3 separate regions of the Homo sapiens genome follow, and all the other regions are linked to region 3. The links are contacts of gene promoters, found by promoter capture Hi-C in human tissues and cell types (Jung and others, 2019). All regions are on one chromosome and are shown on one strand. Each heading gives the region's core, a stretch centred on a gene start or on the middle of the fragment in contact. The rest is flanking DNA. Distances are from core to core; before and after follow the strand shown.

Region 1 (3,833 bases), core at 447-2,946, 620 kb before region 3:
TCTCCTGCCTCAGCCTCCCCAGTAGCTGGGACTACAGGCTCCTGTCACCACCCGCTGCTAATTTTTGTATTTTTAGAAGAGATGGTGTTTCGCCATGTTGGCCAGTCTGGTCTCGAACTCCTGACCTCAGGTGGTCAGCCTCCCAAAGTGCTGGGATTACAGGCTTGAGCCACTGTGCCCGGCCGACAGTTCTTCATTATGCAGGTCTGACCTTGCAGGATGTTTAGCGTTCCTGGCTCTGCTCATTAGATGCCAGTAACGGCCCACACATACTTCCAAACAGTTCCTGGGATGGGTGGTCATATTCTGGTTGAGAACCACTACTTTTGAAGCTTGACAAGGTCAAAAACATTTTGTTAAGGTTTACTCCTTCATTTCCTCTCAGAGAACCTGACTTGGGATTTGGATCTTGATGGCCTAGGGATTAACAATAGTGAGAGAATTTGAGTAGCTAGTGGAATAGGGAGAGTTTTCAGTAGGGTGGAATACAAGATTTTAAGGAAATTTTTTTTTTTTTTTTGAGATGGGGTTTCGTTCTGTCACCCAGGCTGGAATGCAGTGGCGCGATCTCAGCTCACTGCAACCTTCGCCTCCTGGGCTCAAGCAATCCTCCCCTCCCAGCCTCCTGAGTAGCTGGGACTACAGGCACACACCACCATGCCCAGCTAATTTTTGTATTTTCCGTAGAGACGGGGTTTCACCATGTGGGTCAGGCTGGTCTCAAACTCCTGGGCTCAAGCGATCCACCCACCTCAGCCTCCCAAAGTGCTGAGATTATAGCTATGAGTCACTGTGTCCAGCCTAGGAAGTAATTTAATGTTGCGTTTGTTGCTTGACACCTATTTTAAGAATTGAGATTGATTTGTGATTTATGAAAGGTTTGTTTTGATGTTGCTGGTGTTGTGAAAAGCACATTCCTCTCTATGTGAGAGATGGAGTAGCCATCTTTGGCCTTAATATCCAGATGATTTTGAGGTCTGTGGGAATCTGTATGGTGTACTTGAGGGACTTGTTCAAAGCCAATGTAAAGATGTAGTTTTGGCATCTCATGAATAACCTGATATCCCGACTTAAGCCAGAACTCTGGCATTAGAGAATTTTCCAGCTTGGGAGAGTTGACTGAGAAAAGTCCTCCTTTGGCTCCTTGCCAAGTTAGACAAGGGAGCAATCAGCTGCTGAGTTCCAGCCAACTGGAATGTACGTGAGGGGGTACTATAAATCGTCCCTTAGGATCCAGCTTGTGGTCTGTGAAGAGCCTTCCAAATAAGAATGAGACCTGTACATTGGATCCTTGTTCAATCTGCAGCTGCTATAGGAAGGAGTAGTGAGGTGATGTTACTCTGGGAGCAGCTCACTTTATATAGTAACACACTGCCTGTTATGTGGGGTAAGACTGCACTACCCTTTATGTTTTTCCCGTGTTGCGTTTCTCACCAACTTCCTATATTGGTTTTTGTTTCTGACTGTTCTCTTGGGGAGCTGTATCCATAGTTTGATCATTCTGTAAAATCCCTCTTTGCTCTTAAAGGTGCCAGAATTTCATCTCTCTACCCTCTTTTCAACATCTTAGATCTGATGTATTTGAGCTAAGATAGAGAATATGAAATCGTTGTTTTCTTGGCTCGTGATCCTTCCCCAGTCTGCGGGCTGTTTGTTTGACTCCAGGGGGAAACTCCAGGTTCTTCCCCTCTTGGAAGCCTTTCACTTTACTCATAAATATTTAGTATTGAAGTGAACTGTGCTCTTTTTTTTCTCCCTAGTATGAGTGGATAGACTCTCTAGACCAGAAAGAATTTAAAATACTATCTGTACCCTCTGTCTTTCTGATGTTTTGGTTCCTATAAAATGTATTAACCACACATTTTTATTTTTAAGAGCTTAAGTGGTTTTTTGAGTTGTCTTCCATCTTCTGATCCAAAATTTGTTGAGCATTTATTATAGAAATCACTAGGCACCTCTCCTGCTACTGTTTTTTCCGTGTCGTTCATGCTTAGAACCATCAGAGAGCTATGTAACTAGGTAACATTGGTTACTAGTAGTACTGCTTTTACTGATTTGTACTTGAGTGTGTCATCAGCCTCTATGAAGATACATAAAAAAGAGACCTAGAGAAGGATTGCTGTTTGTGTTGCGTGGTGTCTTTGTGGAAGCCTGTGGAAGAAATTTCTGCTCTTAGTAGAAAATGGGTTTCTTCAACCTCATGCACATTTGTAAGATTGTTATAATAGCAAATTTGTGAATTTTTAACCCAGAATGATTCTCTATTTTAATTGTTCCAGAGGTTGTAGCCAAACTTCCTTTAGTAAGTGTAAAGGGCGTTTATCTTCGGTCGTGACCTTACTGTTTGGTGACCTCTTTATCTTTTTCTCTTTGGCTTCTCTTTCTTGTTTTTATCTATTTTATCTTACAGTATAGTATATACCTTTGTATGTTGCCTAAAATAAGTGGCTTCAAAGTTTTATATAGATATTTTTTCTCTTTTCACTTGCCCATTTTGCTGTAAAACCTCCTCTGAGGCCAGCTAGTAGTCTCTGAGGAAATCAAGTTTTTCCCTGTCCCAATTCAGGTCATTTCCATAAATATTCATGGAGCACCTTTATATATTGTTATTCTAGGTACTGCACACAGAAAAGTAAGTGATGTTGGTCCTTCCCTCAAAAACACAGTCTAGTAAGAAAAAAGGATATGTAAATAAATACTTGCAATAAAGTGTTATAAATGTAATAATAGAAATATATACACTGGACAGAGGTAAAAGAGATTAACTCAGGGTGAACAGGTAGAGCGACCTAGAAAGGTAATCTTTGTCCTTAATTTTGCAAGTCAAAGAAGTATTTTAGGTAGATGTGGTCAGCTGACTTTTCTGGCAGAAGGAACAACATGGATAAAAACATAGCATGGTTCGAAACTGCAAGGAATGGTTGCTTCTGAGATTCCCAGCCAAGATTCTGTCATTATAATGTCTTGGGCCATGGTACAGATGTCCACATTGGTGCTGTCTGATCACTCAGTTGGAACTGAAGATTCATCACAATGTAGATAGATTTGAGCTTTTGATTTGGCTCAAGCTTAGAAGTGAATCCTTCAAATAGTTCTTTCTCTGCTTTATTTTATGTATTAGCAAAGGTTGACTCACTCTAAAGTCATGCCTTCCATCATTCTGGGAAGCTTTCTGAGCCAAGCCCAGCTTGGCTTAGGAATAAGTTATGCTTTGTGTTGTAATCATTGGCACTAAGTCCTATTCTTGACTTTCACACACACAGTAGGACTGCAGCTCCTGATGCGTATGGGAAAGAGGAATTGTGATAATACTCGCTATGGATTTACATTTTTCTGGGATTTTTTTTCTTGATAAAGATGCTAAAACCTTATTCTTGCTATTGAGATTTTGAGTTTACTTGTGCCACAAATCTCTGAGATGCTAGGTCCTAATTTGTCAAGCAAACTATGTTAACACATTTGACATTCTCTTCTGAGGAATGTCTTTGGCAGGTTTTCCTTTAGACTTCTGGACAGATCTATAAAACTCTATGGCTTTTGAAATACTTGCAAGTGACATATGTCAAAAGGTTGAATAAGGCACTAATAGTGCCCTTCGTGCTCCTAGGAAGCTGTCACTTGTGGTCACTGCAGACCAGGAGTGAGATCTTATGGGTTGCATTCCTAAATTTCTTTTTGTTTGCATGAACAGATTTTTTAATCTCTTTCCTTGTCTTTACATCCGTACACTGGGGATATAGCATACACCATCAACACATCTGCACAGCTTTGTCCACCGAGGGGTAGCAGAAAGTTGTTTATTATAGCACCAGTCATCTGCATGTCTACCACCT
Region 2 (3,854 bases), core at 1,100-3,599, 580 kb before region 3:
TGGGATCATTTTCTTTCTGCCTGAAGTATACTATTTATATTTAGAATGTATTTAGTGAAGTTCTTTTGAAGGCAAATATTCTTCATTTTTTTATTTGTCTGAAAATGCTTTATTTTACCCTTATTCCAGTAATAGAATTCTAGCCTAACAGTTACTTTTGCTCAGCCCATTGAAGATAGGTTACTACATCTTTGGGCTTTCACTGTTGTTGATTAAAGTCAGCTATCTGTTTTGTTTCTCTTTTGAAAGCAGCCTGTCTTTTCTCTCTAGGTGCTTTCCAGGTCTTTTTAAAATCTTTGATGTTCCACAGTTTTGGTGATTGGTCTAGGTTTGGATTTTTAAAAATTATTCCTGCGAAGTATTTGTCGGGCTTCATGTAACCTATGAGGTTGGTTGGTTGGTTGGTTGGTTGGTTGGTTGGTTTTCCTATCAGTTTTGGAAAACTCTTAGTGTCTTTTTTCAAAGACTGCATCTCCCCATGCTTTCTCTTCTCCTTCTGTGACCCTGATAAGACATACATCAGGCTTAGTTTTTGATGTCTCTTAAACCTTTCTTTGATTTTTCTGACTCCCTTCTTTTTGTGCTACATTCCAGATAATTTCCTTAACTATCTTTCAGTTCATTGAACCTTTCCATAGCTATATCTAACCTTCTATTAAATATGCCCCATTGACAATGTTTTTAATTTTAATAAATTTTTTATTTCCATATATTTTTTAAATCAAATCTGCTTTGACTTTCTTTATGGTTTCTTATTTCCCAAATATACTTGTGAGCTTGTCTTTTATTTCTCTAAAATATATTCAACATGGCATTTTAGAGACTCCATAATCTGAAATGGTGTATTTGGGGTGTAGCCTTGTGGGACCCTAGCTTTATGATAAGGATCTTGGCTGTGTCCATGCAGCCTTGGAAAGCAAAGCTCGAGTTCATCAGGTAGCAAATGTTCTTAGGGTAAAGGCTGTTTGTAATGCCACACTTACCTATCTGGTTTCCCATCTTTATTCAATCTCTGACCAAAGGATTTTCTTTTATTTTACTAGCTCACGAATGCTTTTCAAAAAGATGTTTAACATACTCTTTTTTTCAGAATAATGAGCTGTTTGATTGGGAGAATGGATCTAGGTGTCTAGTCTGCCGTACTACCAGAGGAAGCTGGGATTTCCTTGTTCCATCAGACTTACTCAGACTTTCTTTCTTTTCTTTTCTTTTTTTTTGCTCTGCCTGTGATGCCCATGAGCAGTGTGACTGGGCACCTACATCCAGGGTGGCAAGGGCATGTAGTTTGCTCTTCCAAAGATTAGTTTCTTTTCCAGCTCCTGCCCATTTACAGCTCAGTCTTATGGCAAATGGTGTCATTGGGCTCACATTTTTTCATTTTTCCAAGAGGTGTCCAGTGTATAGAATATCACTTAGAGGGCTAATTGGGTGGGGAAGAAAGATCAAAGGAGTGGAGAGGAAAGGCTGCAGCTGAAGTGATAGGAGCCATTTATTGACAAAAAGATGTGAGTTAGAGATTTGGAAAAGAGTACTCTGTTGTTTCAGCTACATCACATTATATATCTGGTGAACCTTGCTGGCCCATGAAATCCTTTCCATTAGTCAGGGTTCTCTGTGCTTTTGTTCTTGACTACTGCTGTTCTTAGTGCTATTCGGTTTGCTTGTATGTCTCAGTTTCCTTTTCAGAAGGCAGATTGTCGTCTATTTAGGAATGCATTTACTGTAATTGGAGTGTTCTGGCTTGTTTAGTCCCCTCTTCAAATATAAGACTCATATCTTGAAGCTTATGTTCAGAAAATATGCGCGTGTGATCCCTTTGCCCCAAGTGCCAACAGCAGATGTAGCAGTTGACACGCTGCAGGGAATTTCCAACTGCTGGGCAGGTTTCTGAAATCCGGACACGTGCTGTTCACACTTTGGCTTCTGAGGCAAGGATCAGTGGTTGAAAGAGGGGAGGAGCTGGCAGGGGACTGCAGGGAGAAAGATCTTATAATGCCTGCCCAGGGCTTTAGGCTGTGTCAGCTTTCTGCATCTCTTCTCCAGCTGGAGCTGGCAGGGTCGAATAAATCACTGCAGAGTAGTTATGAGCCCAGCTCACCAGGGACTTCTTTGAGGCACACCTGTGACGTCATCCTGTTATCACTGTCTGTTCCACATAACCTCTTTTCACCTCTCCCCTGAGAGAGGGTGATGCCCAGAACTCATGTCAGGGCAATGAGCAGAGGAAAATGTTTCGTAAGTATTATTTTTCAGATGCCTGCTAGGGATACAGTTGTAGGCCATTGACACATTCTTCAATATTCCTCATTGGAAGAGAAAACCTGTGTTTGCAAACATGGCCTGAATACCCCTTGTGGATAAAACTTCTTTTTAAACTTGGAAAGAAAGTCTTGAAACTCCTAAGTGGTCTCTTTTTGTACCCCTTACCTCTCTCGTTCCTTCCCAAACATGCACACACAGACACATTACATACAGAGTCTGCTGTGTTCAAAATCCTTCACTGACTTCCCATTTCACTCAGTGTAAAAGCCACATTATTTACAAGGCCTTCATATATGGACCTCTTCTCCTGCCCCCCCCCCCCCCCCCCGCCCCCGCATTGCCTCTCTCTGAGCTCATTCACGACTGTTCTCCCCATGGCTTGGTTACTCTGCTTCAGCCACACTACCCTTCTTGCAAGTTCTCTGCTAAGCTGGGGACTCTCCCACCTTTGGCCCTTCGCATTAGCTGTTTTCTCTGTTTGGAATGTTCTGCATCCAGCCATCTGTCTGGTGAATACCTCGCCTCCTATAAGTCTTTGCTTAATGTTACTTCTGTGAGACCTGCCCCAACCATCCTATTTAACACTGCTGCATTCTACTCCAAACCTGCACTCTTTATCTTCCAATTCTATTGATTTATTTTCTAAATACTAGATAATTAATGTGTATATGTTTATTATTTATTTTCCTCTACTATTCTGCAAGAATGTAAGCTCCCTGCTTATAGGGGTCTCTGGTCTGTTTTATCCACTGATACATTGTGAACATCTAAAACAGTCCCTGACCTGTTGTAACTTCTCAGTAAACATGCGTTATATCAAGTTCAAGTCAAAGAATAATTTGAGGCCAGGTGCCGTGGCCGACGTCTGTAATCCCAGCTCTTTGGGAGGCCAGTGCAGGTGGATCACTTGAGCTCAGGAATTCAAGACCAGCCTGGCCAACATGGCGAAACCCTGTCTTTACTAAAAAATACAAAAATTAGCCAGGCATGGTAGTAATCCCAGCTACTTGGGAGGCTGAGGCAGGAGACTGGCGTTAACCCGGGAGGTGGAGCTTGCAGTGAGCCGAGATCACCCCATTGCACTCCAGCCTGGGCAACATTGCAAGACTCCGTCTCAAAAAAAAGAATAATCTGTCAGCAGGTCAGCCTGGACAATGAAGATTGAATGGCAAGGGCAGGGGCATCTGTTAACTAGGTTACTGCTCATAATCTTACTGTCTTTCCTTGTTTTTTGTTAAGGTGACTTTCTTGAAAGCATAATTTCCAAATGCATATTTTACATCTGGCATTAAAGTAAAATCCATTAAATGTGCTTTGGTATCTACTGTTGTATTAATCCTTTCTCATACTGCCATAAAGACATACCTGAGGCTGGGTAATTTATAAAGAAAAGAAGTTTAATTGGCTCATAGTTCCACAGGCTGTACAGGAAACATGGCTAGGGAGGCCTCAGGAGAATCACAATCATGGTGGAAGGCAAAGAGGAAGGAGGCACGTCTTCCATGGCTGGAGCAGGAGGAAGAGAGTGAAGGGGGAGGGGCTACAGACTTTAAAACAACCAGATGTCCCGAGAGCTCCATCAGGAGATAGCA
Region 3 (4,147 bases), core at 708-3,207:
TGGCCGCTTCTAGGGCCTGCTGACCTGCTCTGGCTGTGTCCCATGGCCGCTGTCCAGCCTGCGCCCTTCTCCCTGGATCTCACCACTCCCCTTGCCTTGCCTGCCATCCATTCTGCCTGACAACACTGCCTCTCCACATTCATTCTTCAAGTTCCTGTCTTGGCTGGGTCTGTTTATTCTTACGGGGGTGAAACTGTAGCCGCGGCTGTGTCAGGGCCTGCTGTGTGTCAAGCTATAAAATAAACCCTTGGCAGGGCGCGGTGGCTCACGCCTGTAATCCCAGCACTTTGAGAGGCTAAGGTGGGTAGATCACCTGAGGTCAGGAGTTCGAGACCAGCGTGGCCAACATGGTGAAACTCCGTCTCTACTAAAAATACAAAAATTAGCCGGGCATGGTGGCATGTGCCTATAATCCCAGCTACTCAGGAGGCTGCGGCAGGAGAATCGCTTGAACTTGGGAGGCGGAGGTTGCAGTGAGCTGAGATCGCACCACTGCACTCCAGCCTGGGCGACAGAGTGAGACCCTGTCTCAAAAAAAAAAAAATTAAAAATTAAAGGCTCGACATCCTGCATCTCCCCAGGGTTGCCTTCTCTCCAGCCCCGGGGGCCCTGCAGTCCCTCCATCCCCCCTGCTGGATTCCTGTTGTCCCTCAGGGCCTTGATCAATGGCCCTCACTTCTCCTCTCTCCTCTGTCTCAGTGAGGATGAGGCTGGCCCATGGATCCTGCTCTCCGATGACAAGGGAGACCATCCCCCACCCCCGGAGTCCAAAATACAGAGTTTGTATGTTGGGGAAAGGGGAAAGGCAAGAGTGTGGGGAGGGAGGAAGGGCCCTGGCTGGTCCTTCTCAGGATCCCCTTTCCCGCTTCTCTGCCCGTCACCCTGCTGTGCTTGGCTCTAAGCACACCGTCCCCTCCTGCTTCTCTGGCCCTGGCCCCCATCACCTTCACACTCCCTCAGGCTGCCCTTTCTTCCCCCTCTCCCCTTTTCTCACCATCCCCTGCCCTCACCCATATCCTTGACCTCTCTGGCTTCCTGGCTCAAAGTGCCTCTGGCTGTCTCTCTCCAGCTTTGGCCTATGGTATCGGGGTAAAGCTGAATCCTCTGAGGATGAGACCAGCAGCCCTGCACCCAGCAAGCTAGGGGGAGAAGAGGAGGCCCAACCACAGTCTCCAGCTCCTGATCCGCCCTGTTCTGCCCTCCACGAACACCTTTGTCTGGGGGCCTCAGCCGCCCCAGAGGCCTGACTTAGGGGTCTGGCTGTGGAAGGATGTGTGGCCTCAAATGAGGACAGGGCTCCCGCCTTCACAGCCCTCGCCAGGGGTCTGCCCCAATCCTGGCCTGCATCAGGGCAGGACGGGGTCTCAGCCCGCCTCCCTCTCTACGTCTCTGTACCGAGCCTCTGGGGCCAGATATAAGAGTGCCTCTCTGAGTCTCAGTTTCCCCATCCATGAAATGAGAGCTGACTGCCTAGCTCCCAGGGCTTTGTGCAGACGGCCTGAGCTCATGTAATAAAGAACTGCCCGTAATACACAGAAACTGTTCCTCGCCTGTCTGTCCATGTCTGTGCCACCTCCCAACCCTGCCAGGAGCAGAGGCAGGCTGAGGGGTCCTCGCTGGTCTCCTTGCTCAGTCACTGGGTGGGGTGGCTTCTTGCAGCTCAGGCCTTGCTTTGGGAGTGTGGCCTGATGGAAAGCCGTGGCTCCCAGCCTCAGTCCACCCCCTTCCCTGGCCCCGGCACCCAGGGACCTGCAACTTCATTCTTCTGGCCCTTCCAGGCCCAGGCCAGTCAGCCCTGCCATTGCCTTTCTTTCCCTTTCTTTTTTTGAGTGTCAGTCTTTCCAGCCACCCCCTCCCTCTCAGGGAGGTGCCTCGTGGCAGCCCGCCCCTCCGGCCTGGTTTCCTCAGGAAAAGCCCTGAGAGGAAGCAGGGAGGGGGTTGGGAGCTGTGGGGGCCAGACGAACCCGAGCGCTCCCACCGAGCTGCCTGCCATGGGGCTGGGGCTGCTGCTCCCGCTGCTGCTGCTCTGGACTCGGGGGACTCAGGGGTCCGAGCTGGACCCCAAAGGGCAGCACGTCTGTGTGGCCAGCAGGTGGGTCTCGTGGGAGTCTGATGCGTGTGGCCAGCAGGTGGGTCTCGTGGGAGTCTGATGCGGGTGGCTGAACCGGTGTTGAGGCCGTTAGGGGAAGGAGGAGACTAGGAAGGGGGCTTAGGCTGAAAGGAAGGGACTGCTGATGGCGGTCTGGCAGGTAGTGGCCAGCCAGGGCAGATGGTGGAAGGGTCAGGGAAGGAGAGGGGAGGGGCTGGGGACCCTAGCTGTAAAGATCCATTAGGCCTCCCCAGGGGGCTAAGGCAGCCTCCCCCACTGCAGCCAGAGACAGTGATCCACCTTCCTCAGGGCCAGGCTGCACCCCCCACCATGTCCGGCTGACCCCTTTTTGCCCCACAGCCCCTCTGCTGAGCTGCAGTGCTGCGCAGGCTGGAGGCAGAAGGATCAAGAATGCACCATCCGTGAGTAGCCAGGACAGACCCTCAGCCAAGGAGAAGGGAGGCCGTAGCCCAGTGACAACCCTTCCTTCCTACCCCATGGGGCCTGCCCCTCCTGATACCAGGAGTCAGGGTTTCTCCTGTGACGCACCCCCAGGCCTGAAGGGGCACCTCTTGAGGAGGCATGGCCCCTGGAGCCAGTGAGAGGGCAGGGGTGTCCCCTGGTCCTGCTCCCGTCTTTCCAACCTGGGTGGGGTGTCTTTCAGCCATCTGTGAGGGGCCGGACGCCTGCCAGAAAGACGAGGTGTGTGTGAAGCCGGGCCTCTGTCGATGCAAGCCTGGATTCTTTGGGGCCCACTGCAGCTCCCGTGAGTCTCAAGGGCCAGATGAAGTTGCTGGGCAGAGCTGGGTACGGGGGCAGTGGTGTGGGAGCAGGCGAGGCAGGTAGCCATGCAGCCTCAGGACAGCAGGGCCAGAATCCCCCCCAGCTTCACTGAGGAATTGCGGTCCAGAGACAGGAAGTGACACACACTCCCGGGAGATGACCTGAGTCACCGGGTTTTTACCCACATCCACAAAGCACTGCCCACCTGAGCATCTTCCTCTTCCACTTCTCAGAAAACCTGTGATTCCCCTTCATTGTAAAATGAGTGTATTACTTGCCTTTCCCACATATACCTTATACATGGGCAGTGGATGGAAGGGGGCCCCTGGCTGGGCTCTCTGCCCTCTCTGGCAGAAAGAGAGGGAAGGGAAAGGGGTTGGGAAGCAGGAGAGCCAGAGGGTGGGCATCAGGAATCAAGGAATCACTAGGGGAAAGGTGGCTTCTCCCGACACCCTGGCGGGCAGTATCCAGGCCTGAGATCAGGAGAAAGCCAGCTCTCCTCCAGCCCAGCAGAGATCCATCTCGGCAGGGAGGAGCAGGCATGGAGGAAGGCCCACCAACCTCGGTGCCACGCTCTGGGCAAGTCCCCTGCCCACTCAGGATCTCTGAGTGTGTTCTGGAATGTGAAGTGGCAGGCTGAGCCTCCCACTAATGGCTAAGGGTTTTCTGTAGGTCAGAGCGGAGCAGGAAGTGAGTGTTGCCCAGGACAGGCTGCCGGATGTTCTGAGGGTCTGTCCCCGGCTCTTGGAGGATGGGCCCAGCGCCCCTTTTCCTTGAGGAAGGGGACGCAGGGTAAGGGTCTGCGCGCGGCCCTGAGCCCGCTGACCCCTCCCGTCCCCACCCCCGCAGGCTGCCCGGGCCAGTACTGGGGCCCCGACTGCCGTGAGAGCTGCCCCTGCCACCCGCACGGCCAGTGCGAGCCAGCCACGGGCGCGTGCCAGTGCCAGGCCGACCGCTGGGGAGCCCGCTGCGAGTTCCCGTGCGCCTGCGGCCCCCACGGGCGCTGCGACCCCGCGACCGGCGTGTGCCACTGCGAACCCGGCTGGTGGTCGTCCACGTGCCGCCGCCCGTGCCAGTGCAACACCGCGGCGGCGCGCTGCGAGCAGGCCACGGGCGCCTGCGTGTGCAAGCCGGGCTGGTGGGGGCGCCGCTGCAGCTTCCGCTGCAACTGCCACGGCTCCCCGTGCGAGCAGGACTCCGGCCGCTGCGCCTGCCGGCCGGGCTGGTGGGGTCCCGAATGCCAGCAGCAGTGCGAGTGTGTGCGGGGCCGCTGCA

The links. The method cuts DNA at HindIII sites, captures the fragments that hold promoters and counts their contacts. A contact is called where the count stands out against the background at its distance.
Region 1: a contact is called between a fragment that was not itself captured here and the fragment with the promoter of SCARF1 in region 3, in 1 of the 25 tissues and cell types used here (dorsolateral prefrontal cortex).
Region 2: a contact is called between a fragment that was not itself captured here and the fragment with the promoter of SCARF1 in region 3, in 1 of the 25 tissues and cell types used here (dorsolateral prefrontal cortex).

What each region holds. Positions count from the first base shown.
Region 1 is chr17:2,261,589-2,265,421 of GRCh38, reverse strand. The region is part of intron 8 of SMG6 (SMG6 nonsense mediated mRNA decay factor); the gene reads left to right. Among named protein-coding and RNA genes, the nearest start is that of SMG6, 40 kb to the left of the region's middle. The HindIII fragment of the contact is 5,334 bases long and covers 1-3,833 here.
Region 2 is chr17:2,221,286-2,225,139 of GRCh38, reverse strand. The region is part of intron 10 of SMG6 (SMG6 nonsense mediated mRNA decay factor); the gene reads left to right. Among named protein-coding and RNA genes, the nearest start is that of SMG6, 81 kb to the left of the region's middle. The HindIII fragment of the contact is 7,215 bases long and covers 1-3,854 here.
Region 3 is chr17:1,643,542-1,647,688 of GRCh38, reverse strand. SCARF1 (scavenger receptor class F member 1) reads left to right here and starts at 1,957. Exons shown (of 11, transcript NM_003693.4): 1 at 1,957-2,092; 2 at 2,450-2,511; 3 at 2,754-2,855; 4 at 3,722-4,147. The coding sequence starts at 1,992. It overlaps RILP (Rab interacting lysosomal protein), which reads left to right. Exons shown (of 8, transcript NM_031430.3): 7 at 700-783; 8 at 1,070-1,539. The coding sequence ends at 1,247. The HindIII fragment of the contact is 19,188 bases long and covers 1-4,147 here.